Linked DNA regions of Homo sapiens: regions 2, 3, 4, 5, 6 and 7 are each linked to region 1. Evidence: promoter capture Hi-C in 16 types of primary human blood cells and fetal thymus (Javierre and others, 2016). All regions are on one chromosome and are shown on one strand. The core of a region is centred on a gene start or on the middle of the fragment in contact, and the rest is flanking DNA. Distances in the headings are between cores, read along the strand shown. Region 1 holds the start of SNX27 (sorting nexin 27). Region 2 overlaps S100A11 (S100 calcium binding protein A11). Region 3 has its middle 9.4 kb from the start of S100A10. Region 4 overlaps LOC124904421 (a long non-coding RNA gene). Region 5 has its middle 7.7 kb from the start of THEM4. Region 6 overlaps THEM4 (thioesterase superfamily member 4). Region 7 overlaps THEM4 (thioesterase superfamily member 4).

Region 1 (3,140 bases), core at 375-2,874:
CGCAAGAGCATGGAGGGATGTGGTGGGGGAGGCGTATGAAGGGGGAGGGACTGCAGCAGGGGAGAGAGGGTGGGCTGCAGCAGCAGAAGGCGCCTTAAAAAACAGAAGAAAGGAAAAGCAGCCTAGGGGAGGGAAAGACTAGGACAAAGTCAAGTGTGGGATCACAGGAGGATAGAGTAGAAGAGGCAGCAGAGACGGGCATGCCCTAAAAAAGCAAAGCGGTCAAAGACCCAAAAAGGGCTTGAAGTAGTTTTGAAGGAGGAGGAGTTACAAGGGGTCTACCATAAACCTGACTAGGAGGAGGCATGAGTATAGAGCAGGAGTGAAGGCAGGAGGCCAGGGAAGGGATGCTCTCAGAGGGGTGTGCTGATGGAGACGCTAGATTCCAAATTAGGGTGTGATACGGGGCCAACCGAGAAGAGAAACTACGGTGTCAAATCCCACGCCCCCCACCCCAAAGGCATGCAAGGGTCAGAAAGCAAGGTAAACTCTTGGAGTAGAAATACAAAAAGGAGGGGAGGAAAGGGGCACACGGTGGGATGGAAAAATTTAGGGGCAGCGTAACCATGAGGAGAGGGTAACTAAGGAAAGAAAAAGGAGACGAGCGGGGAGGGATGGTGTTTCCGGAGGAAAAGTAGGAGCAGACCAGAGGTCCTGCCTACTTGGTCTGGAGGGCAGAAGGGGCAGTCCACGGGGGCGGAGGGGAGTGGTGGAGAACGAAACTGCGATGCTGAAGATGAGAACTTGGGGGGGACACGGTACTGGCTGGATCAGAAAACGAAACGCCGTCAGTAAGGAGCAGATGAGGTTCCTTCTGAGCAAGACGAGGGGGAGTGAGGAGCAGAATGCAGCACGCCAAACGGGAAGGCAAAGGGGCGGAGAAGAGCCCAGAGTAATCGGGGCACAGGGAGGAGCACTGGGGGCGCAAGGGCATCAGCTGGAGACGACGGGGTGGGAGACCGGCGTCGCAGAAGCCCCGGGGCGGGTGGTGGGAGGGCAGCCCACAAGGAGGGGCCCGGCTGCGGAGGCCTGAGGGGCGGGGGTCCGGAGGCCGGCTCGGAGCTCGGGGGAGGTGCGGCCTGGGGGTGACAAGGGTAGCGAGGAGTGCAGGGGCAGGAGGGGCGCGGGGAGGATGGGGCGGCGGGTAGCCCCGATACTCACACCTCCAGGATGCGGTCCCCCTTGCGCACCCCGGCCCGATCGGCCGCCCCCCCGGGCAGCACGGCGCTCACATGCTGCAGCGGCGCGTACAGCTCCCCGTTGATGCTCCGCAGTTGCCCGCCCTCGCTCACTTGGCCCCGCACGTTGAAGCCGTAGCCGGACTCGGACTTGACGATGCGCACGACCCGCGGGCCGCCGCCTCCCCCGCCGCCGTTCCCGGCGCAGTGGAGCCCAGACCCCCCGCCGCCGCCGCCACCTCCGTTCCTGTGAGGGGCTGAGGGATGAATCCCTTCCCCGTCCTCGTCCGCCATCTTGCGAGCAGGCGAGCCGTACCCCCGCCCCCTACGCCTCCAAGGCCTCCCGGCGCGTGCTCGCCCTGCCTGGCAGCCGGACGACCCCCGACGCGCGCGCCCGATCCGCCGGCCGCGGGACCGACTCGGCCACCGAGCTGCTGGCGCGGGGTGAAGAGGAGGCAGGGGGCGGGCGAAAAGCGGACAATCGGGCACCGTGGGGCCTCCTGGGAGATGTAGTTTATGGGTGGCGGGGGCGGGGAGCGGTCTGGGCCTGGGCCTGAGCCGAGGTTATAAGACGCAGTTCGGAAGCAAGGCCTGCCGGGAGTTGTAGTTTATCTTTCATGCTGGGTTAGGAGTTTGATCTGCTGGGTGGGGAGAGTATAACCCAGCACCCAGCGTGGTAAAATGATTCAGTTCTTGATGCGGACCAAGTTTTTCGCCCCCCCCCCTTTCATTTCATAACCTCTAAAAAACAATAATGTTAGAATAACTTAACGTTTGTGATTCAACACAGTCTTAAATTATATCAACTCATTTTTTGGCACAGTAACTTATATGTTGACCAGGGCCCAACAACCTGTGAGGCAACCGGATCACGATTAGCTTCCCTATTTTACGTTATTAGGAAACAACCTTAGAGTGCTCAAAGTCATCCAGCTACTAAGTATCAGGAACTAAGGCCCAGTTATTGTGCAACTTTCTTGTCCTGTATTGCAACTACAGTCATGTGCCACATAAGGACATTTTGGTCTACAATGGACTGCAAACACGAGGGAGGCCCCCTAAGATGATAATGGAGCTGAAAAATGTCTATCACCTAGTGGCACAGTAGCCACCATAAGGTCATAGCACAAGCATTACTCACATGTTTGGAGTGATGCTGGTGTTAACAAACCTGCACTGCCAGTCATGTGAAAGTATAGCACATATGATTATGTACAGTACATAATACTTGATAATGGTAAGAACTATGTTACTAGTTTATGAATTCACTGTAGTTTTTATCACTATTTTAGAGTGTACTCCTTCTACTTTTTTTTTTAAGTTAACTGTAAAGCAGCCTCAGGCAGGTCCTTCAGAAGGTATTCTAGGTATTCTAAGTATTGTGATTTTTTTCCACGTATTCCAAGTATTGTGTTTTTTTGTTTTGTTTTGTTTTTTTGTTTTTTTTTTTTTTAAGATGGAGTTTCGCTCTTATCGCCCAGGCTGGAATGCAATGGCACGATATCGGCTCACCGCAACCTCTGCCTCCCAGGTTCAAGTGATTCTCCTGCCTCAGCCTCCCAAATCCCTTGCGATTAAACGCATGCGCCACCATGCCTGGCTAATTTTTTGGTATTTTTAGTAGAGACAGGGTTTCACCATGTTGGCCAAGCTGGTCTCGAACTCCTGACCTCAGGTGATCCAACCACCTCAGCCTCCCAAAGTGCTGGGATTACAGGTGTGAGCCACTGTGCCTGGCCCCAGTTATTGTTACCATCAGATGACAGCTCTGTGCATGTTATTACCCATGAAGACCTTCCAGTGAGACAAGAGATGGAGGTGGAAGACAGTGAAATTGATGATCCAGATCTGGTGTAGGCATAGGCTATGTTTGTGTTTAAGTCTTAGTTTTTAACCAAAAAAAAAAGTTTAAAACATAAAATTAAAAATTGCCTTAAATAGAAAAAAAGCTTATGGAATAAA
Region 2 (3,140 bases), core at 231-2,730, 420 kb before region 1:
CTAGCTGCCTTCACAAAGGTACTGGTCCCTGTCTCCCCCACTTCCCCAAACTACCCACAACATGAAACAAGACCCTGGCAGAATGGCCAGGAATGAAGGAGCAGCAACTGACACCCCACACTCTTGCTTCATTTTAACTCACTCTAAGCCAGGAGTTTTTCCATTTAGGAAGAGAGATATATGAAATGGTATATGACGTAATGGAATTATTTTCAAATTTCATTATTCTACCCCAGAGGTTCTATGGCAGCCCTGTCCAGTAGAACTTTCTGCAGTGGTGGAAATACATTCTATATCTGCTCTATCCAACATGGTAGCCACCAGCCACATGTGTCTGCTGAGTGCTTGAAATGTGGCTAGTGTGACTAACAGACTGACTTTCTAAATTAGTTAATGTAAATGTAAATGTAAATAGCCATTTGTAACCAGTGGCTCTAAGTCTGTATCTGTGTTGGCAGCTTGGGCAAGTGGAGGATGAGACTGATTAGGCAGGGCCTGTGGCCTTTTTCCACCTGAACCCGCTGTACTTTTATATAGTTTATCTATTGGAGTTGCATGCAACACTTGAAAGAAGTGTTCCACTGGCTTTACAAAACTGAATAGCCCCTAATATCATAGAAAGAGCCCTGGACTAGGAGTGGGAAAACCTTTGGTTCAAGGCCCAGGTCTGCCCCTTAGGCAGGTCACTTCACCTCTTTTAGTCTGTTTCTGCATCTGGCAAATGGGAATATTAATAATCCCTATCCTGTACCTTATACTCCTGTGAGAATAAAATGTGGCAGCATATTTGAAAGCACATTAGAAGATGCGATATAAAGGTGTAATTATTATTTTCTCTGCAGAACCAGAAGGACCCTGGTGTCCTTGACCGCATGATGAAGAAACTGGACACCAACAGTGATGGTCAGCTAGATTTCTCAGAATTTCTTAATCTGATTGGTGGCCTAGCTATGGCTTGCCATGACTCCTTCCTCAAGGCTGTCCCTTCCCAGAAGCGGACCTGAGGACCCCTTGGCCCTGGCCTTCAAACCCACCCCCTTTCCTTCCAGCCTTTCTGTCATCATCTCCACAGCCCACCCATCCCCTGAGCACACTAACCACCTCATGCAGGCCCCACCTGCCAATAGTAATAAAGCAATGTCACTTTTTTAAAACATGAACTAGAGAGTTGGTGAATTTGTGCATGGGAGGGTGGAAAGTGGGAGGAATATAAATTAGATTGATAGAAGCTGCATAGTAAATAAGAAAAAATGCATCTTGGGTGTACACATAATCATGACTAATAGTACAACCAGATTCATCTCTAAATTATTGACTGATGGAGAGTTGTCACTTATTGTTATTGTTTACTCACTGCTACCCGTTGGCACTGTCATAGATCCTGAGAATACAACCAGCAAGACAGACAAGGTCATGCCTTCACTGAGTATAACTTCTCGTTGGGGGAGAGAACAATGACTAAATAAACAAAGGACTATCAGAGTATGATAAATCCTAGGAAGGACAGATTACAATTATGTTACAGATTCATGGGGACTAAGAGGGCACTATTCTGAGGACATGACATTTGTGCTGAGATATGAAGAACTAGAAAGAGCAAACATTTGAAAAGAAGAAGAGGGCATTTCAAGAGAAGAAATGGGAAGGGCAGAGGTCCTCCAAAGATAAGAAGGATCTAGGATGTTTGTGGAATAGAAAGGAGGCTCGTGTTGCCAAGGTCTTCATGTTTGGCTTAAGCTAGTGTTAACACTAGTTTTAATTTTCTAAGCCCTCTGATAAAGCAGCAGGGAAAGAGAGCCTAGAAAGAAGGTAAGAAGACTGATCCAGGGTTAAAGATGACAGATTAGAGGAGAGAGAGAGAAAGAGGGGCAGGTTTCCGCAATGTGCAATTATTCCTAAGAAGCACAGCGAAAAAGTGATGTGTATCCAGAAAACCTCTGATTCCTTATCCATTTATGTGAGTTTTAACTAATTAGCAAAAATCTCTCTAGATTATGGTTTATTCCTTCATAAATTCAGTGAGATGGATTAGACCATATCTGAGGTCATTTTTGGCTCTGACATTCCAAAATGAAGGCCAGCACCTTAGGGTGAGCCACTGCCTCAGCCGTTTACAGTTGTCTCAGCTATACCTGTAGCAACTGCAATTATCTTCAGTACATTTGAATCATCCAGTCTTTGAAAAGAATTCAATTTGACTTTCATAAAGATAAAAACTATCTCTTCACATACATATTTTATTGGTTTATGGGATATTTAATTAAATTATACCTTACAAGAAAAACGGGCCAGGCGCGGTAGCTCACGCCTGTAATCCAAGCACTTTGGGAGGCTGAGGCAGGCAGATCACGAGGTCAAGAGATCGAGACCATCCTGGCCAACTTGGTGAAACCCTGTCTCTACTAAAAATACAAAAATTAGCCGGGTGTGGTGGCGGGCGCCTGTAATCCCGGCTACTTGGGAGGCTGAAGCAGGAGAATCACTTGAACGCGGGAGGTGGAGGTTGCGGTGAGCTCAGATCACACCACTGCACTCCAGCCTAGCAACAGAGCAAGCTCCGTCTCAAAAAAAAAGAAAGAAAAAAAAGAATATAAACAGGTTTGGGACCGATCACAAATACACTCTTAGTGAACACATGATCCCACTGTTGGGTTGGTGCCCAAGTGTGTGGGCTATTAGAATTATCCATAGGCCTTGGACATTCATCGTTCTACGGCCACAAGTCAACATTTTTTTTTAAGAGAGAGAGAATGGAGAGATGGTAAAATGGGTCAGTTAAGAATCTGAAATAAGGCAATGAAGCGGGAAGGGAGGGGAAGAGTATGTAAGAGGTAAAACCCAAGAGATGATGATTATCTGAATGTAGTGGTGAGAAAGAGAAGCCTAGGATTATTCCCAGCTTCCCAGCATGGACAATTGGTTGGATGATGATACAATTCACTGAAATCAGGAATGAAGCAAGGGGGTTAAGCTTTAGGAGCAAAATATAGAGTCTGGTTTAAAACACATTATATTTGGCCAGGCGCGGTGGCTCACATCTGTAATCCCAGCACTTTGGGAGGCCGAGGTGGGAGGATCACTTGAAGTCAGGAGTTTGAAACCAGCCTAGCCAATATGGTGAAACCCTGTCTCTACTAAAA
Region 3 (3,140 bases), core at 324-2,823, 390 kb before region 1:
TTTTAACTCATTTCTTTGCTGGAATAGATGATAAATTTTAAGTCATGTTTTTCAAAAAAGAGAAACTGAGCATGCTCAGGCTGATGTGGGCTATAGGGACACTTCCATCATTGCACTCTTCCCTTCCTCAGATGCCTCAGGACCACTCTTCTTATCATCCTGTGTTGATCACTGATTTATGGTTCCTGCCAAAATCCACTGAGAGCATACTCTGCTCAGAACACACAACACACCAAGAGAAATCTCTCCCCAATGAACCAACAAGCATCAAGGGAGACAAATGAGCAGATAGGCAATTTCCCTACTCTATGATAAGGGCCACGAGAGGCTAAAGGAGCAACACCCAACCCCAGTCTAGGTGAGGTTGGGGAGGCTTCATGGTGGAAATCACATCTGGCCAAATCCTAGCGGCTGTCTGGTCCTACAATCTGTCCCCAGCCAGTATGTCTACCTTCTGGCCTCCTTTCACTGCCTTCCATCACCACTTGTCTCCTCACCTGGAGTGTGAATTCCTCAAACGGAAGGACCATGCCGCCTTCATCTGTGCATTCCCCACAGCACCCAGCCCAGCAGCTACAGCCAAATGACAGACTCCCAATCTAATGCCCTCACCACTAGATGGCTGAGCCTGGCTGGGGAAAACTATGCTGGAGCCAGACATCCTGCCAGAGTTCCAGCCTGACTGTAAGCTGTGCAGGGAGCCATAGAGTGTTGCCCAGGAAAGAGTTATCTATGAACCGACAACTGAGAGAACCAGTGTCTACACACCCTTCCTTGCAGGTCACCACGTCAGGGGTGGGGCAAACAACTTAAGACTAATCACAAAGCAGGTTGTTTTCACCTAAGAAACCCCACCAGCAGCTTAGCAGCTTAGTCTGCACCTTCCTTCCCAAACCAGTGCTCCTCCCTGCATTTGGCAGGCACCAGAGCACAAGGTGTCCAGGTCTGAAAACTTCTGGCAGTTCTGCTCCTTCCTCTCCCTATGGCCAAGAGCTCAGTAGCAGTAGCCTGCAGATTCTTCCTGTTCTTTCTCTCAAATCTGTACCTTCTCATCCACCCTTGCCACCATCATTCCAGGGTGGGCCTCCCTCATCTCCTGGCCCTCATTTTCTCCCAGCTTCACCCCATTCTCACATCACAGCTGCTCTCTCCTCCACAGCTGGCCGTGGTCCCTCCCTCTATGATTTCACTGTGTCTACCAACACAGTGATCAAAGGAGAAGGAGGCTGGGAAGAGCTGAGGGCTATAGGATGATCTCTGCTTAAAGACACAAGCGGCTCCAGAGACTGGTAAATTTTGAGAGAGAATCAGAAGCCAGAAAAAAAAAGCTTAGGTTTCATTGCAGAGTGGTCAATTTTTTAGCCTGGAATTCAAAAGCATCAATAATCTAGCCCTCATCCCTCACCCAATCCCTCTTTCTAGCCACTCTTGCTGTTCCTCCAGTGTGTCCTGTGCATACTCCCCTTGGCATCTTCCCTCGTGTTACTCCTCCCCCAGGACTACTCTTCTCTCAGCCCCTGTCCCATATGCTCAATCAAGCCTATCAAATCTGACCCAACCTACAAATCTCACTTCAAATCCTATGTCACCCATGAAGTTATTCTTAAGAGTCCAGCCAAGAGGGAGCCTGCTGTTCTGAAGTCCCCCGTGCAGCACTGCCCACACATGCTACCTCACCTCAGTGCTGGTTGTGAACACTTCTCATGTTCCTGCCCAGATTGTGGTTATGTTCCCAAGCAGCTGTCATCGCTGTGGTTCTACCAAGAGTAAGGCAGAGTCGGGTGGTGACAAGAGGGGAGGCTTTGAGACTAAGCTTATCTGGGTTCCAATAGGACTATATCAATGCCCTTAGGGAAGTTATGTAGCCTCTCTGAGCTTCCTTTCCACATCTGAAAACAGACTGGCTATCTATTTTACAGGGCTTTTGTTAGATTTACAGATAATATACATAAACCACAATAATTATTACTATAATCATAGCACTAATCGACCTAAAATATTTCTTGGAGTGATCATAAGAAACAAATAAGATAACATATGAGACAGAACTTCATAGAATATAAAATTATTGTGTTAATTTTTAACAAGAAGACTTGGAGTATGTTTGTGGGGGTTTTTTTGTTTTGTTTGTTTGTTTGTTTGTTTGTTTTTGGCAGAGTCTCGCTCTGTCTCCAGGCTGGAGTGCAGTGGTGCGATCTCGGCTCACTGCAACCTCCGCCTCCTGGGTTCAAGTGATTCTCCTGCCTCAGCCTCTCAAGTAACTGGGATTACAGGCATGCACCACCACACCAAGCTAATTTTGTATTTTTAGTAGACACAGGGTTTCACTATGTTGGTCAGGCTGGTCTTGAACTCCTGACCTCAGGTGATCTGCCTGCCTCGGCCTCCCAAAGTGCTGAGATTACAGGCATGAGCCGTGTCCAGCCCATTTGTGTTCTTCTATCAAATGGCCATATGTTGGTCATATGACCATACATTGGTCACATGATACAAGACCTCACAGATGCCCCACTAATTACCAGCCAGTACATCCTCCAACAGCTAAGCACTTTAGCTTTCAGAATATCTGTGCTCAAAGCTGTTAGAATGAATTCACTTAAAAGTCAACCAATAAAACTGGTGGAATCCTATGCTCAAACTGAGGTTTTGGTCCATATGGTACCAGACACTAGTTCAACTTAACAACCTATTTTCACCTATATATATATATATATATATATTTTTTTTTGGCGTCTTGTACACAGAGCATTACTTTTCTCACTGCTCAAGCCCAGAGAAATGCTGCCAAAAGCAAGAGAAAATGGGGTAGGATGTCAACCTAAATCACAGCCTCCATCTCAAGCCAACTAGGTAATCTTTCCAGCCCCATATTCAATCCTCTGGTTTCCAGCCAAGGATTTCCTGCCTGGGCCACTCAAGAGAAAGTAAACCCCACTGTCAAGCTATTCCCACTGTGGCCACCAGAGGGTCCCACAGCATTAGCTACAAAGCAAGAACACACCCTTTCCCAGTAAATTGTCCATTTTAAATATTTCCAGAAAGCCTTATGGCAGCCTCCCCAGCTTTCAGCCAATAGGACTGCCCAGAAACCCCAGAGCTAGCTGCTGCTAACATTGTTGAGGCGTCAGTTCATACCAAGC
Region 4 (3,140 bases), core at 395-2,894, 320 kb before region 1:
TGCGCCTGGCCGTATTGCTGTTACTTTCAATTACATTTTATTTTAATTCATTTCTCCCCCAAGCCCCCCAAAATTAGTGAGTACCTATTAGCACTCTCTTCTCTTGGTAGTAATTACATTTTTATAATATTAGTGCTGCTAATATTATCAGTTACCTTCAGTTTACATGTATAGAGACAATTTTAAAACAGTATATTTTAAATTTAAAATTTACATTTTAGGAATATATTTAGACACTTAAAAATAAAGGAAATAATCTTAAGAGGGAAAAAAGACAGGGGGGAGGGTGGATTATAAGAAATAAAGAAGCTTAGTTAAAGTAAGAAGCAAATTATAATTATAGTGGACAGTGTTAGGAAGAAAAGAAAGGGAAACGTGATAGGGAAACAGCAGGGAGGAAATTGAGACATCTCCTCTCTCCATCTGGAAGTTTCCCTTTGTCTTACTCCTACCCTTCATCCCCCAACAGAGGGCTATCCCTATCACCGTGCCCTTTGGCCCTATTGAACTGTGCTAAAGATAAATGAGTCGCAAGCTTCAGGGGGTGTCTGATGCTCCCTGCGGGACCTCAAGGCTACTTGCTTTCTTTTACTTAACGAAGCTTATCAGACCATGTTTGACCTTCATATAGAAACCTGGGTCTAACAATGAGAGAGTAAGTACAGGTTTCAACAGTTGTATTGTTGCGCGATTTTTAAGGAATTAGAGAGACTGATGGGGTTTAGAAGGATATTTATTAACTATTTAGGTGTATTGGCCCAGTCGGATTAATATTTAAAGGACTGAGTTTTGAATAAAGAGTTATTTTTTAAGTATTTTTGGGGGCAGGGGGAGATTTGTGCAGGGGGAAGCATATTATAGAAGAGAGAAACAAAGGCAGTTATTTAGTTAATTGAGACGTATTATATTATTTTTTATTTTTTAAGGAGAAACATGTTTTATGACTTGAGTTTGTTTAGTGACTTTGTAGTTGTATAGCTAGGGAAACAGGGTTTTTACAATGTTTGGGAAAGGAGGAGAGATAAGGCTTATTGGCCACAGAAAAACAGGCAGTTAATTTTTAAAGGACTCCAGCTCTTTCTCTTTCTCAGGGGGAATTGGGTTTTTTAATATACAACTGAGTTTTTGCTTATACACTCCTTAATTTCTTTTAATTCCTGTTCCAGTATGTTTCTGGGAATGATAATGAGATTAGCTTTGGCACTCTCCATATTTATTGAGAGATTTCACCAACATGTATAAAAGACTGGTAGTGTAGTTTGCTGTGATTTAGTTAAAAAGCATGAAACTTGTCAGAGAGATTTTGGTTTTAATTCCTGCTCCATAACTTACTAGTTGTGTGATCTTGGGAAAGCTCATAAATCTCTTGGAGCTGTTTCCTCACGTTTAAAAATGGAGGTATCTAAATAGATGTGTGAGAATTAAATGACATTATGGGTATAAAATGTCTCTCTTTCTTTTACCTTTAAACTCTGTTGAACTTGAAAAAAGTGGCTCATTTAATATCTAGTACTGGGAGCTCCTCAGTAAGTGGTTGCTTTTATTACCTCATTCCAAAGAGAAAAATATATTGTGGCCAGGCACGGTGGCTCACGCCTGTAATCCCAACACTTTGGGAGGCTGAGGCAGGCAGATTGCTTGAGCTCAGGAGTTCGAGACCAGCCTGGGCAACATGTCAAAACCCCGTCTCTACAAAAAATACAAAAATTAGTTGGGCATGTTGGTGTGCGCCTAGCTACTTGGGGAACTAAGGCGAGAAGATTGCTTGAGCCTGGGAGGTCGAGGCTGCAGTGAGTTATGTTCATGCCACTGCACTCCAGCCTGGGTGCGAGACCGTCTCAAGGAAAAAAAAAATTGTTAAGTGCTCTACAACCCTTGTGATACCAGAAACCAAGGGAATATAAGTAATAGTCTTGTGATAATCTCCCGTTCTTTATTCTCCCCACTTTGTTTTCCCCAGCCCTCTCCATGATGAAGATGGCTGCAGTTTCCGTGGTTTCTGCTATGGAATGAAAAATCCTACAGGCAGAGCCCATGCTTCCTGCAGCTGCCAGCTCTGCCCTGCCTCCTTCCCCTCCCAGCTCCCCTGTGAGAAGCACTATCCTCAGAATGACTCAACCTCATTTTCCAGGAGGGTCTTAGAACTCATTGTACTTTTTTCTTGCAACCGTAAATTTTCTGCAGTTTGTTCACCTAAAGACTTTTCACATGACAGGTTTCTATGTCTTAGAACCTACTTTCTCTGATCCTAATCCCACTCAGGGGAGGACACAAATATTGCACTTCAGTCACTTTTAATGTGTCTGCTGTACAATACCACCTGGCAGAGTACCCAAAAAGCAACAACTCAAAATCTAGCCCACCAGATATTCCATGAGATTTGATGGTGATGAGCACTGCAGTCCAGGGTTCAAGGAAAGCTAGGATGGGTATTCCTCATGGTAATTTCTGAGCAACTTTGAGTCACTCAACGTATTTCATTGTCTTCTAGGCGTATTTAGTCTTTCTATTGAATGTAAGAACTGGACAGAGAGGTGGGGAGCATCTTATCGCTCACTTTGCAAAAGAGGAAACAGCTCTGAGGTCTCATTTTACGTATCTATTGACTATTTTATACTCAGTTTGGAAACAAAATGATAAATAATAGAGCAATCTATCACTTTGTAAAATCTAGAAGACTAAGCTTTGAAGTTCTTCCAAGTCCCTAATTAGATAATAGTCATCACTTAAAGAATAAACTGTTAGGTATTGAGATAGATATAACCTGTTCATTTATTGACGAATATCAGCCTAAAAGTTTACCAGGAAATAATTTAAAATGTATAAAATCTTCCTAATTACTCAAAGGAAATTTATAATAGTCAAAAATTTTACCTACTAACCAAAAATCCAGAAGATTCAGGACAAAAATAAATGGAAGAATAGATAATTATCTAAATACACTTGTGGAGGTCAGAATAATGGGCCCCCAAAAAGGTCCAAGTAAGTCTCTGGAGTCTGTGAATACGTTACCACACATGGCAAAAGGGATTTGCAGATGTGATTAAGTAAGGATCTTGAGATGGGAAGATTATCCTGGATTACATGGGCAGGCCCAATGTAATAACAAGGGTGTAGGGTGCAAGGAAGAAAGGTGCGGA
Region 5 (3,140 bases), core at 470-2,969, 310 kb before region 1:
TTAAGTAAGACAAGGCTTGACAAATATTCACTAAACTTGGCAGTTGTGAATGACAATTCAATAATACCTGGGGCCAGAACAAAAAGAGTTTTTTAAATGTAAGTTGGTTTGGGTTTTTCTTTTCTTTTTTTTTTTTTTTGGAACGTTGTCTTTGGTGGAAAGAGGGGTAGCAATGGATGAAGGGTATAGGTGTGAGAGTTTCTGCTGTCATGACTGTTGTTTTATGTGAAAGAGGTTTGAGTATGTTGAAACAGGCAGAGGCTAGATATAGAAAGTGCTTAATGGGGGTGTCAAAGGATACAATTCCAAAATATTTAGTTTGAAGACCTCAATTGGCTTTATTTGCAATTCTAGAATAAAACAAAACCTCATTCTATAAAACAGAATAGTGTTCCAATGAGCTGAGCAGAGGAGATTGGTTTTACAGACAGAAGGGCTGAAGAAAGCAGAAACAAAGAACAAAGAGCGGATAACTCATTTCACAGTTACTTTCCTTGTACAGTGAGAAGAGGAAACAGAACAATGGAGAAATAACTAATTGTTAACATCAGGTTACATTTTTTGGTAATGATTAGGGCAGACGAAACTTTATTATCATGCCCGTTTGGGAAATTAAGCTGTTCTCTCTCTCCTGATTTCTAGGAAGATCAAATAACAACTTAGTTTTGGTTTGGTTACATTAAACTTTAGTATGACTGGCTCCATTTTGATTTTTATTCTGATCTGCTGGGGCCTAGTGCAGGAGCTTAGTCCAAAACAATGGCCTCCTATAATTTTTATTTAACAATTTTCCCCTTTTGGTCAAGGCTCAAGTGAGAACCTGACCAAAACTAAGGGCATTGGCACTAGTCTCAGTTACCATCATTTTAGGTTTCCAGTCTCAACACATCATTCATAGGTTAGTGTCCTCATCATCATGCATTTCTTTGAGTTTTTTGTTATTCCAGCCAAAGACAGACTATTTGACATTCAACAGATGGCTGTATGCAAACATTTAAAACTTTTTTTTTTTGAGATGGAGTCTCGCTCTGTCACCCTGGTGGAGTGCAGTGGTGTGATCTCAGTTCACTGCAACCTCTGCCTCCCAGGTTCAAGCGATTCTCCTGCCTCAGCCTCACGAGTAGCTGAGACTACAGACACGCACCACCATGTCCAGCTAATTTTTGTATTTTTAGTACAGACAGGGTTTCACCATGTTGGCCAGGCTGGTCTCGAAATCCTGACCTCAGGTGGTCCGCCCACCTCAGCCTCTCAAAGTGCTGTGATTACAGGTGTGAGCCACCACACCCGGCCACAAACATTTAAAACTTTTTGAGAGCATACAGTGCAACAGACAGACTACTATTATTACTCTCAGGAGGATATTATCAAGAGTCTGGAGTATGCTCCTTAGCTAGGGTCCTCATGAAACAAACCAACTAAAATAGAATAGATTGAAGAATGAGCCAGATGAGGAGTATATCGATCTTAACCAAGTAGCCAGTCTATTTTTTCAGCCCAGTCTCTATGATACCTGATGTATTTATCCCTGTGCAACAAGAAGTGTTAGCAACTGCAATGATTCCTTCTTGTTCAGCTAATAGAAAATCTCATGACTGAGTTAAAGTATGGAATGACAATTTGCAAGTCACCCACAGAAGCTACTGATTGTGAAATTCTAACGATAGCATTATTCTGCCAGACAAAAAAGATAGGCATAAACAAGGAAAAATTAAGGGAAATAATAGTCTCATTATGGCAGGGTCTTGTTCTGACAGTTTTGTCTGTTTGTTTATTTGTTTGTTTGTTTTTTGGAGACAGGGTCTAGCTCTGTCACCCAGACTGGAGTGCAGTGGCAGTGGCATGATCTCAGCTCACTGCAACCTCCACCTCCTGGGCTCAAGTCATCCTCCCACATCAGCCTTTTGAGTAGCCGGGACTACAGGCATGCACCACCGTGCCTGGCTAATTTTTGTATTTTTTTTAGAGACGAGATTTCGCCACGTTGCCCAGGCTAGTGTCAAACTCCTGGGCCCAGCAATTCACCTGCCTCAGCCTCCCAAAGCACTAGGATTACAGGCATGAGCCATTGCACTCAGCTGTTCCGACAGTCTTGAGAAAAACTCCCCATGATAAAGTTAACAACTCATGTGGGTTTGTAGTTTGAATGTCTCTGGTTATGGCATCGGGCAGTTTGGTGAACTTGGTGTGGTCCACACATCGGGCATGAGGCTTGTCCCTTAAAATTTACATTGAGTTGTCCAGCTTCAGCTCTGGGGCTTTAGGAACAGAGCAATTTTTGTTCTTAGTTGGAAAATTATAGCCAGATACTGAAGGAAACTAGAATACAGGATCCAGTCCGGTATACAGGTAGACAATAAAAATTTGAAAACAATGAATAGGAGTAAAACCTAATAACAGGTGTACTATAGTTTTTCCTCAGAAACATAATTATTCTCTTTACAGTCACCCCCATTTCTATCAAAGATAAACACTATAAGACTCATATGTTTGCAACATAAATTTAGTCTCATCAAACTTGATCGTTAGACTTTCTTCTCAGTATTTAAAAAACAGAAAGCACCATGTTTCTTTAAAAACAATCCTTTCTTCACCTCTGGCTGCTGTCCTCTCTTCTCACTATAAGAGGTCTGAAGAGTAGTCAGTCTACTCCTGTTTGTATGTTTACCTCCCACTCATTCCTCCAGCCTCACCTCCCCACCTCAGCTGCTCTTACTGATGTCTCTAATATGTTCTGTGTTCTAAAAAAAGGACACTTTCAGGCCTTTATCTTAAGTTCCAAACTATTCTATTATCTCTGCGGTACCTTCAACACAACGTATCCAGAAAAGAACTCACTTTTCTTCCCTGTGCCCCTAAACATACTCCTCCTTTTCCCTTTCTAAAGGGTACCTCCACAATTTGTAGTCCAGGAAACCTGGATAACATCTTAGTCCTCCTTCTTTCCCCTGCCCTTGGCCTCATCCATTACCAAATCCCCTCACTCTATCAATCCCCACAAAGCACTCAAGTGTTTCCTTGATTCCAATGCAATTTCCCCGGAGCCTCTATCATGATCCTTCTAAAATATCAATCAGATAATGCCAGTCCTCTAGTAACAGTCTCCCTGTAGCTCTCCATTTCCTCCAGAGTGATCTCTA
Region 6 (3,140 bases), core at 337-2,836, 280 kb before region 1:
TCTTTTAGGCCTTAATTTCATCATCTGCAAAATGAGGATAATAAATAGTACCTACTTCATATGATTGTAATAAGGCCCCTCAAAACTGTTTCATGCCTCTTTTGCCCACTGCATTAGGCTGTTCTCACATTGCTATAAAGAAATGCCTGAGGCTGCGTAATTTATAAAGAAAAGAAGTTTAATTGACTCACATTTCTACAGGCTATACAGGAAGCATGATGGTGGCATCTGCTTGGCTGCTGGGGAGGGCTCAGAAAACTTACAGTCAGCCGGGCACAGTGGCTCACTCCTGTAATCCCAGCACTTGGGGAGGCCGAGGTGGGCAGATCACCTAAGGTCAGAAGTTCGAGACCAGCCTGTCCAACATGGTGAAACCTCATCCCTACTAAAAATACAAAAATTAGCCGGGTGTGGTGGGGCGGCACCTGTAACTCCAGCTACTCAGAAGGCTGAGGCAGGAGAATCACTTGAACCCAGGAGGTGGAGGTTGCAGTGAGCCAAGATTGCGCCACTGCACTCCAGCCTGGACAACAGAGTGGGACTCTGTCTCAAAAAAAAAAAAAAAAAAAAAAGGAAGCAAGAAAACTTACAGTCATGGCAGAAGGCAAAGCAGGAGCAGGCACTTCACATGGACACAGCAAGAGCAAGAGTGCAAGGCACAAGGTACTATACACTTTTAAACAACCAGATCTCATGAGAACTCACTATCATGAGGACAGTACCGAGGAGGATGGTGCTAAACCGTCCATGAGAAATTCACCCCCATGATCCATTCACCTCCCACCAGGGCCCACCTCCAACTTTGGGGATTACATTTCAATATGAGATTTGAGCGGGAACACACATCCAAACTATATTCCAGTGTTTTTTTTTTTTTTCCTGTAATACTTTTTCCAGCTGGCTAATTTCTGCTTATCTAATCAATATTCAAGTCAAAGAACCCCTTCCTGAACCCCTAATCCTAGATGAGTACTTCTCCCTTATCCCCTAACTTCCTGTGCATAGCCACTGGAAGCACTTTCAACATGGAAGATAATGCCTGTTCTTAACCTCCATCTCCAGTGTGCTGGGCTTACCTGTGCTTGATTAAAGTCTGGAAAAAAAGAATGGAATCAGCAGACCTGAGCATAATCCTGGCTCTGTCAATAGCTCGCTGGGTGATGTTGAGCAAATCATTTTCCCTCTCTCAGTCTCTCATTTTCCCAAGGAGGTTGGACCAGATGATCCCTGAAATTCCCTTCCATTTTGAAGTGACAAGCTTATGGGGAGAAGAAAAGCAGCAAGATAATCTTAGAAATTGGGAGAATATGTTATGAAATAGAATGCACCTCCCATTACTTACTTTTCTTTTTCTTCTGTCTTTTAGAGGTCATTTTCTTCTGAGGAAGTCATTCTTAAGGACTGTTCTGTCCCCAACCCCAGCTGGAACAAGGACCTAAGACTGCTCTTTGACCAGTTTATGAAGAAATGTGAAGACGGCTCCTGGAAACGTTTGCCTTCATATAAACGTACACCTACTGAATGGATTCAAGACTTCAAAACCCATTTTCTTGGTAGAAACAGCCACTTTCCCATTAATATATCTGAGCATCAAATATAAAGCTAAGAACAGATTGAAGTACTAGTTACTACCTGAAAAAAAGAAAGAATATAATGCAGGATTATGGTTCTATAGTCACCAATTTTATAGACCAGAAATCACAATAAATTTTGCAGATTGGAGAGCATAAAGCCTATTGTCAAGAATAAGACTGCTCCCACCCTGGCATTCTTATCACCATTAGCAAGAGTGAAGAAAGGGCCCCAGAGAGCTTCCACCCTCCTACAACCTCATCACCTCTCCGTCTTGAGGCTGTCATCTAATCTCATTTCACCCTTTATCCCATATCTGGTTATATCACCCTAAGAAGCTTAGAACACTCAGGTTATACCCACATCTCCCAGTATCTAAATCCCCAGGGCAACCCACCCAACACCCAAAACACACACATAGCAATTCCTATCCTTCTGTGTTTTTTTACTAATATACTTTTTTAGCATTATAATTTTATAGAAAAATTAGCCTAAAGTACAGAGAGTTCCCATATACCCTTTATCCCCTCCCCACCCCTAATTTCTCCTATTATTAACATCTCACATTACTGTGGTGTATTTGTTACAATTGATGAGCCAATATTAATATATTATTCTTAATTAAGGTCCATAGTTTGTTTTAGGGTTCACTCTTCGTATTATGTTTTCCGTGGGTTTTAACAACTGTGTAATGACAGATATCCATCATTATAGTATATTTGAATCATTCACAGATATTTCTGAGTTACTCATTATCTTTTAATCATCCAAACACATCTTTAGGTGGTGGTTGGTTTTTTTTAACTGACTTTTAAGAAGGCCCTTGGGCCAGGCACCGTGGCTCATGCCTATAATCCCAGCACTTTGGGAGACTGAAGCGGGCGGATCACTTGAGGTCAGGGGTTTAAGACCAGCCTGGCCAACATGGTGAAACCTCGTCTCTACTAAAAATACAAAAAAAATTAGTTGGGCCTCGTGGCGGGGACCTGTAATTCCAGCTACTTGGGAGGCTGAGGCAGAAGAATTATTTGAATCCAGGAGGCAGAGGTTGCAGTGAGCTGAGATCGCGCCACTGCACTCCATCCTGGGCAACAGAGTGAGACTGTCTCCCCCCCTACAAAAAAAAAAAGAGAAAAAGAAGGCTCTCAATATTGCCCAACAACCATACTTCATGTTTCCCTAGTTTATTCACTCTCCTCCCTTACTGGATGAGTATTTTCTGCCTTTTTCTTTCTTCTTATGCCTCTAATACTTTCCCTTCTCACCCTCAGTTGGTCTCGCTTCCTATCTCACTAAGAGAAAATAAAAGCAGTCAGAAGAGAACTCCCAGTCTCCCATTGCCTCACATATCCTCCCCCCTGCATCTGTGCCTGATGTTCTGCTTCTTCCTGCTGTGAGTGAACCATCCACACTCTTAGGGAGACCAAGCCTTCCATTTGTGCGCTGCATTCCATTTTCTTTGGCCTACTGAAGGACATCCATCTCTGCTAGATGTTTCGTATCAGCATATAAACATGCCACAACTGCATTTCTCTCTTCCCAGTCTCTCTCTCTCTCTCTCTTTTGTT
Region 7 (3,140 bases), core at 301-2,800, 260 kb before region 1:
TCCCAGGTTTCTAAATGTCTAAGAAACAATAAAATGAGAGTCATGTACAGAAATATATTGTTGGAAGAATTTTTTCAAAAAGCAAAATAAGATTAAGTTTTTTCTCTAATGGGAAGATGGAATGAAATATATAAGTTAAGAAAAACCTTTTCTTCTGTATTAAGGAAGCTCATATCCTACATGTTCCTATGTTCCCTATCCCATTACCTTCTCAGGACGCTTAACCTCTTCTGGGGACTTATGAAGCCAAATTATTGTCTTACCTAATGGATGACCATCATGGGACCCTAGTCAAACATATTTTTCAGGACCAAGTATACAACATCCTCTGTGATGGAGACAATGAGGCAATCTTTCAAATTTAAGTCACTAAAGTCATGAATTTTATGTCTCAGAAAAGTTTGAAATTTCACTTGATAGTATTCTTGGTCTGGCACTACTCTGGCCAGTTTAGAATTACAGAATTGGTTTATTCCTTCTCAATTATAGATTTAAAATTAAGTGGACTGCAGACAAAGATACCATAAGAGGAAAAAAAAAGTCAAAACTACAGATCAATATCCCTTACGAGTATAGATGCAAAAATACTCAACAAGATAACAAGCAAATCCAATAGCACATTAAAAAGATTATATGCTATGACCAAGTGAGATTTATCCCAGAAAGGCAGAGGTGGTTCAACATAAGAAAATAAATCAATGTAATACACCACATTTATACTTCAAGAGAGTAAAACCACATGATCATCTCAATTGGTGCAAGGAATGGCATTTGACAAAATCCAACACCCTTTCATGACAAAAAGCACTCAGAAAACTAGGAATAGAAAAAGACTACCTGAACATAATCTAGAAAAATGCACAGCTGGTATCACACTCAGTGATAAAAGACAGAAAGCTTTCCCCTAACGTTAGGAAAAAGGTAAGGATTTCCACCTTCACTACTGCTATTCAATATAGTACTGGAAGTCTTACCCAGAGGAATTAAGCAAGAAAAACAAAAACAGCTTGCAAATTAGAAAGGAAGATGTAAAATTATCTCTATTTGCAGATGACATGTCTACATATAGAAAATCCCAAAGAATTCACCAAAAAAACAAAACTAGCACTAATAAATAAATTCAGCAAAATTGCAGGGTACAAAACTTCATTGGCTGGGTGCGGTGGCTCAAGCCTGTAATCCCAGCACTTTGGGAGGCCGAGGCAGGCGGATCACAAGGTCAGGAGATCGAGACCATCCTGGCTGACATGGTGAAACCCCATCTTTACTAAAAATACAAAAAATTAGCCAGGCATGGTGGCGGGTGCCTGTAGTCCCAGCTACTCAGGAGGCTGAGGCAGGAGAATGGCATGAACCCGGGAGGCGGAGCTTGCAGTGAGCCGAGATTGCGCCACTGCACTCTAGCCTGGGCGACAGAGCAAGACTCCATCTCAAAAAAAAAAAAAAAAAATTCATCTTTTGTGCATTAAAGAATAATATCAGTGAAGTGAAAAAAAATCCCTACAGAATGGGAAAAATATTTGCAAATTATATATCCAAAAAGGTGTTCGCATTCAGAATATATAAGGAATTCTTACAACTCAACAACAAAGAACCCAGTTTAAAAATGGGGGAAGAACTTGAATGGACATTTCTCCAAAGAAGATATGGAAATGGAAATGGCTAACAAGTATATGAAAAGAGCCTCAACATCACTAATCATTAGAAAAATGCAAATCAAAACCACAATGACCACACCTACTAAAATGCCTATAATTTTTTTATTTTATTTTATTTTTTTTTTTTGAGATGGAGTTTCGCCCTTGTTGTCTAGGTTGGAATGCAATGGCGCGACCTGGGGTCACTGCAACCTCCGCCTCCCAGGTTCAAGTGATTCTCCTGCCTCAGCCTCCCAAGTAACTGAGATTACAGGCACCCACCACCACACCTGGCTAATTTTTTTGTGTATTTTTAGTAGAGATGGGGTTTCACCATCTTGGCCAGGCTGGTCTATAATTTTTCGTTTTTAAAAACAGTGTCAAGGAGGATGTAAAAAAAAAAAATAGAAACTTCATACATTGCTGGGTGAATATAAAATAATGCAGCTGCTACGGAAAATTTGGCAGTTCCCCAAAAAGACATACAATTACTATATGACCCAGCAATTCCACTGCTAGGTATAAATAAAAGAGAAATGAAAACACGCATCCACACAGAAGCTTGTACACTAGTGTTTATAATAGCATTATTCGTAATAGCCAAAATGTGGAAACAACCCAAATGGCCATTAATGAATGAATAGATAAACAAATTGTAGTACACACACACACACACATAATAGACTATTATTCAGCCATACAAAGGAATGAAATACTGAAACATGCTGCAGCTTGGATAAACCTCAAAAGCATCACATTAAGTGAAAGAAAACAATACTATATTTAGAATAGGCAACTCCATAGAGACAGAAAATAGATTAGTGATTGATATGGTTTGGCTGTGTCCCCACCCAAAATCTCATCTTGAATTGTAATCCAAATTGTAATCCCCATGTGTTGGGGACAGGACCTTGTGGAAGGTGATTAGATCATGGGGGCAGTTCCCCCATGCTGTTCTCGTGGTAGTGAGTGCATTCTCATGAGATCTGATGGTTTTATAAAGGGCTTTTCCCCACTTCACTCAGCACTTCTCTCTCCTGCTATGTCAGGAAGGATGTGTTTTCTTTCCTTTTTGCCATGATTGTAAGTTTCCTGTGTCCTCCCCAGCCATGCAGGACTGCGAGTCAATTAAACTTCTTTCCTTTAGAAATTTACCCAGTCTCGGGCAGTTCATAGCAGTGTGAGAATGGACTAATACAGTGCTTGCTAGGGGAATGAGGGTGGTGCGCATGGAGGAGAGAACAGGAAGTGATTTAAGTGATTACTTACAATACTGTTTTTCTAGGGTGGTAAAAAAGTTTTAAAACTAGAGAAAGGTGGTAGTTGCACAACATTGTGAATGTACTAAATGCCAATGAGTTGTACATTTTTAAATGATTCAGCTGAGGGTGGTGACTCATGCCTGTAATCTTAACGCTTTGGGAGGCCAAGGCGGAAGGATCCCTTGAAACCAGGAGTTCAAGACCAGCCCGGTCAACATGGCAAGACCCCATTTCTACAAAA

The links. Contacts are between HindIII fragments. The CHiCAGO score rates a contact against its expected background, and 5 or more counts as called.
Region 2: a fragment that was not itself captured here is called in contact with the fragment with the promoter of SNX27 in region 1 in 2 of 17 cell types (neutrophils and non-activated CD4 T cells); the score reaches 5.3 in neutrophils.
Region 3: a fragment that was not itself captured here is called in contact with the fragment with the promoter of SNX27 in region 1 in 1 of 17 cell types (fetal thymus); the score reaches 5.1 in fetal thymus.
Region 4: a fragment that was not itself captured here is called in contact with the fragment with the promoter of SNX27 in region 1 in 1 of 17 cell types (M2 macrophages); the score reaches 5.0 in M2 macrophages.
Region 5: a contact is called between a fragment that was not itself captured here and the fragment with the promoter of SNX27 in region 1, in 3 of 17 cell types (M2 macrophages, naive CD8 T cells and total B cells). The highest score is 6.2, in M2 macrophages.
Region 6: a contact is called between a fragment that was not itself captured here and the fragment with the promoter of SNX27 in region 1, in 2 of 17 cell types (naive CD8 T cells and M2 macrophages). The highest score is 5.2, in naive CD8 T cells.
Region 7: a contact is called between a fragment that was not itself captured here and the fragment with the promoter of SNX27 in region 1, in 3 of 17 cell types (M1 macrophages, M2 macrophages and total CD8 T cells). The highest score is 5.9, in M1 macrophages.

What each region holds. Positions count from the first base shown.
Region 1 is chr1:151,610,534-151,613,673 of GRCh38, reverse strand. It overlaps SNX27 (sorting nexin 27), which reads right to left and starts at 1,624. Exons shown (of 12, transcript NM_001330723.2): 1 at 1,162-1,624. The coding sequence starts at 1,472. It overlaps LOC124904420 (a long non-coding RNA gene), which reads left to right and starts at 306. Exons shown (of 2, transcript XR_007066622.1): 1 at 306-483; 2 at 1,275-3,140. RefSeq lists a silencer at 1,269-1,708 and an enhancer at 1,749-1,848. The HindIII fragment of the contact is 5,045 bases long and covers 1-3,129 here.
Region 2 is chr1:152,030,526-152,033,665 of GRCh38, reverse strand. S100A11 (S100 calcium binding protein A11) reads left to right here. Exons shown (of 3, transcript NM_005620.2): 2 at 1-18; 3 at 843-1,160. The coding sequence ends at 1,004. Among named protein-coding and RNA genes, the nearest start is that of S100A11, 4.9 kb to the left of the region's middle. The HindIII fragment of the contact is 2,987 bases long and covers 1-2,973 here.
Region 3 is chr1:152,001,730-152,004,869 of GRCh38, reverse strand. No RefSeq gene overlaps it. Among named protein-coding and RNA genes, the nearest start is that of S100A10, 9.4 kb to the right of the region's middle. The HindIII fragment of the contact is 485 bases long and covers 1,331-1,815 here.
Region 4 is chr1:151,934,274-151,937,413 of GRCh38, reverse strand. The region is part of intron 1 of LOC124904421 (a long non-coding RNA gene); the gene reads left to right. Among named protein-coding and RNA genes, the nearest start is that of THEM4, 26 kb to the right of the region's middle. RefSeq lists an enhancer at 191-836. The HindIII fragment of the contact is 2,082 bases long and covers 604-2,685 here.
Region 5 is chr1:151,915,662-151,918,801 of GRCh38, reverse strand. No RefSeq gene overlaps it. Among named protein-coding and RNA genes, the nearest start is that of THEM4, 7.7 kb to the right of the region's middle. The HindIII fragment of the contact is 3,893 bases long and covers 1-3,140 here.
Region 6 is chr1:151,893,421-151,896,560 of GRCh38, reverse strand. THEM4 (thioesterase superfamily member 4) reads left to right here. Exons shown (of 6, transcript NM_053055.5): 2 at 1,367-1,553. Among named protein-coding and RNA genes, the nearest start is that of THEM4, 15 kb to the left of the region's middle. The HindIII fragment of the contact is 652 bases long and covers 1,261-1,912 here.
Region 7 is chr1:151,867,779-151,870,918 of GRCh38, reverse strand. THEM4 (thioesterase superfamily member 4) reads left to right here. Exons shown (of 6, transcript NM_053055.5): 6 at 1-53. Among named protein-coding and RNA genes, the nearest start is that of THEM5, 16 kb to the right of the region's middle. The HindIII fragment of the contact is 1,301 bases long and covers 900-2,200 here.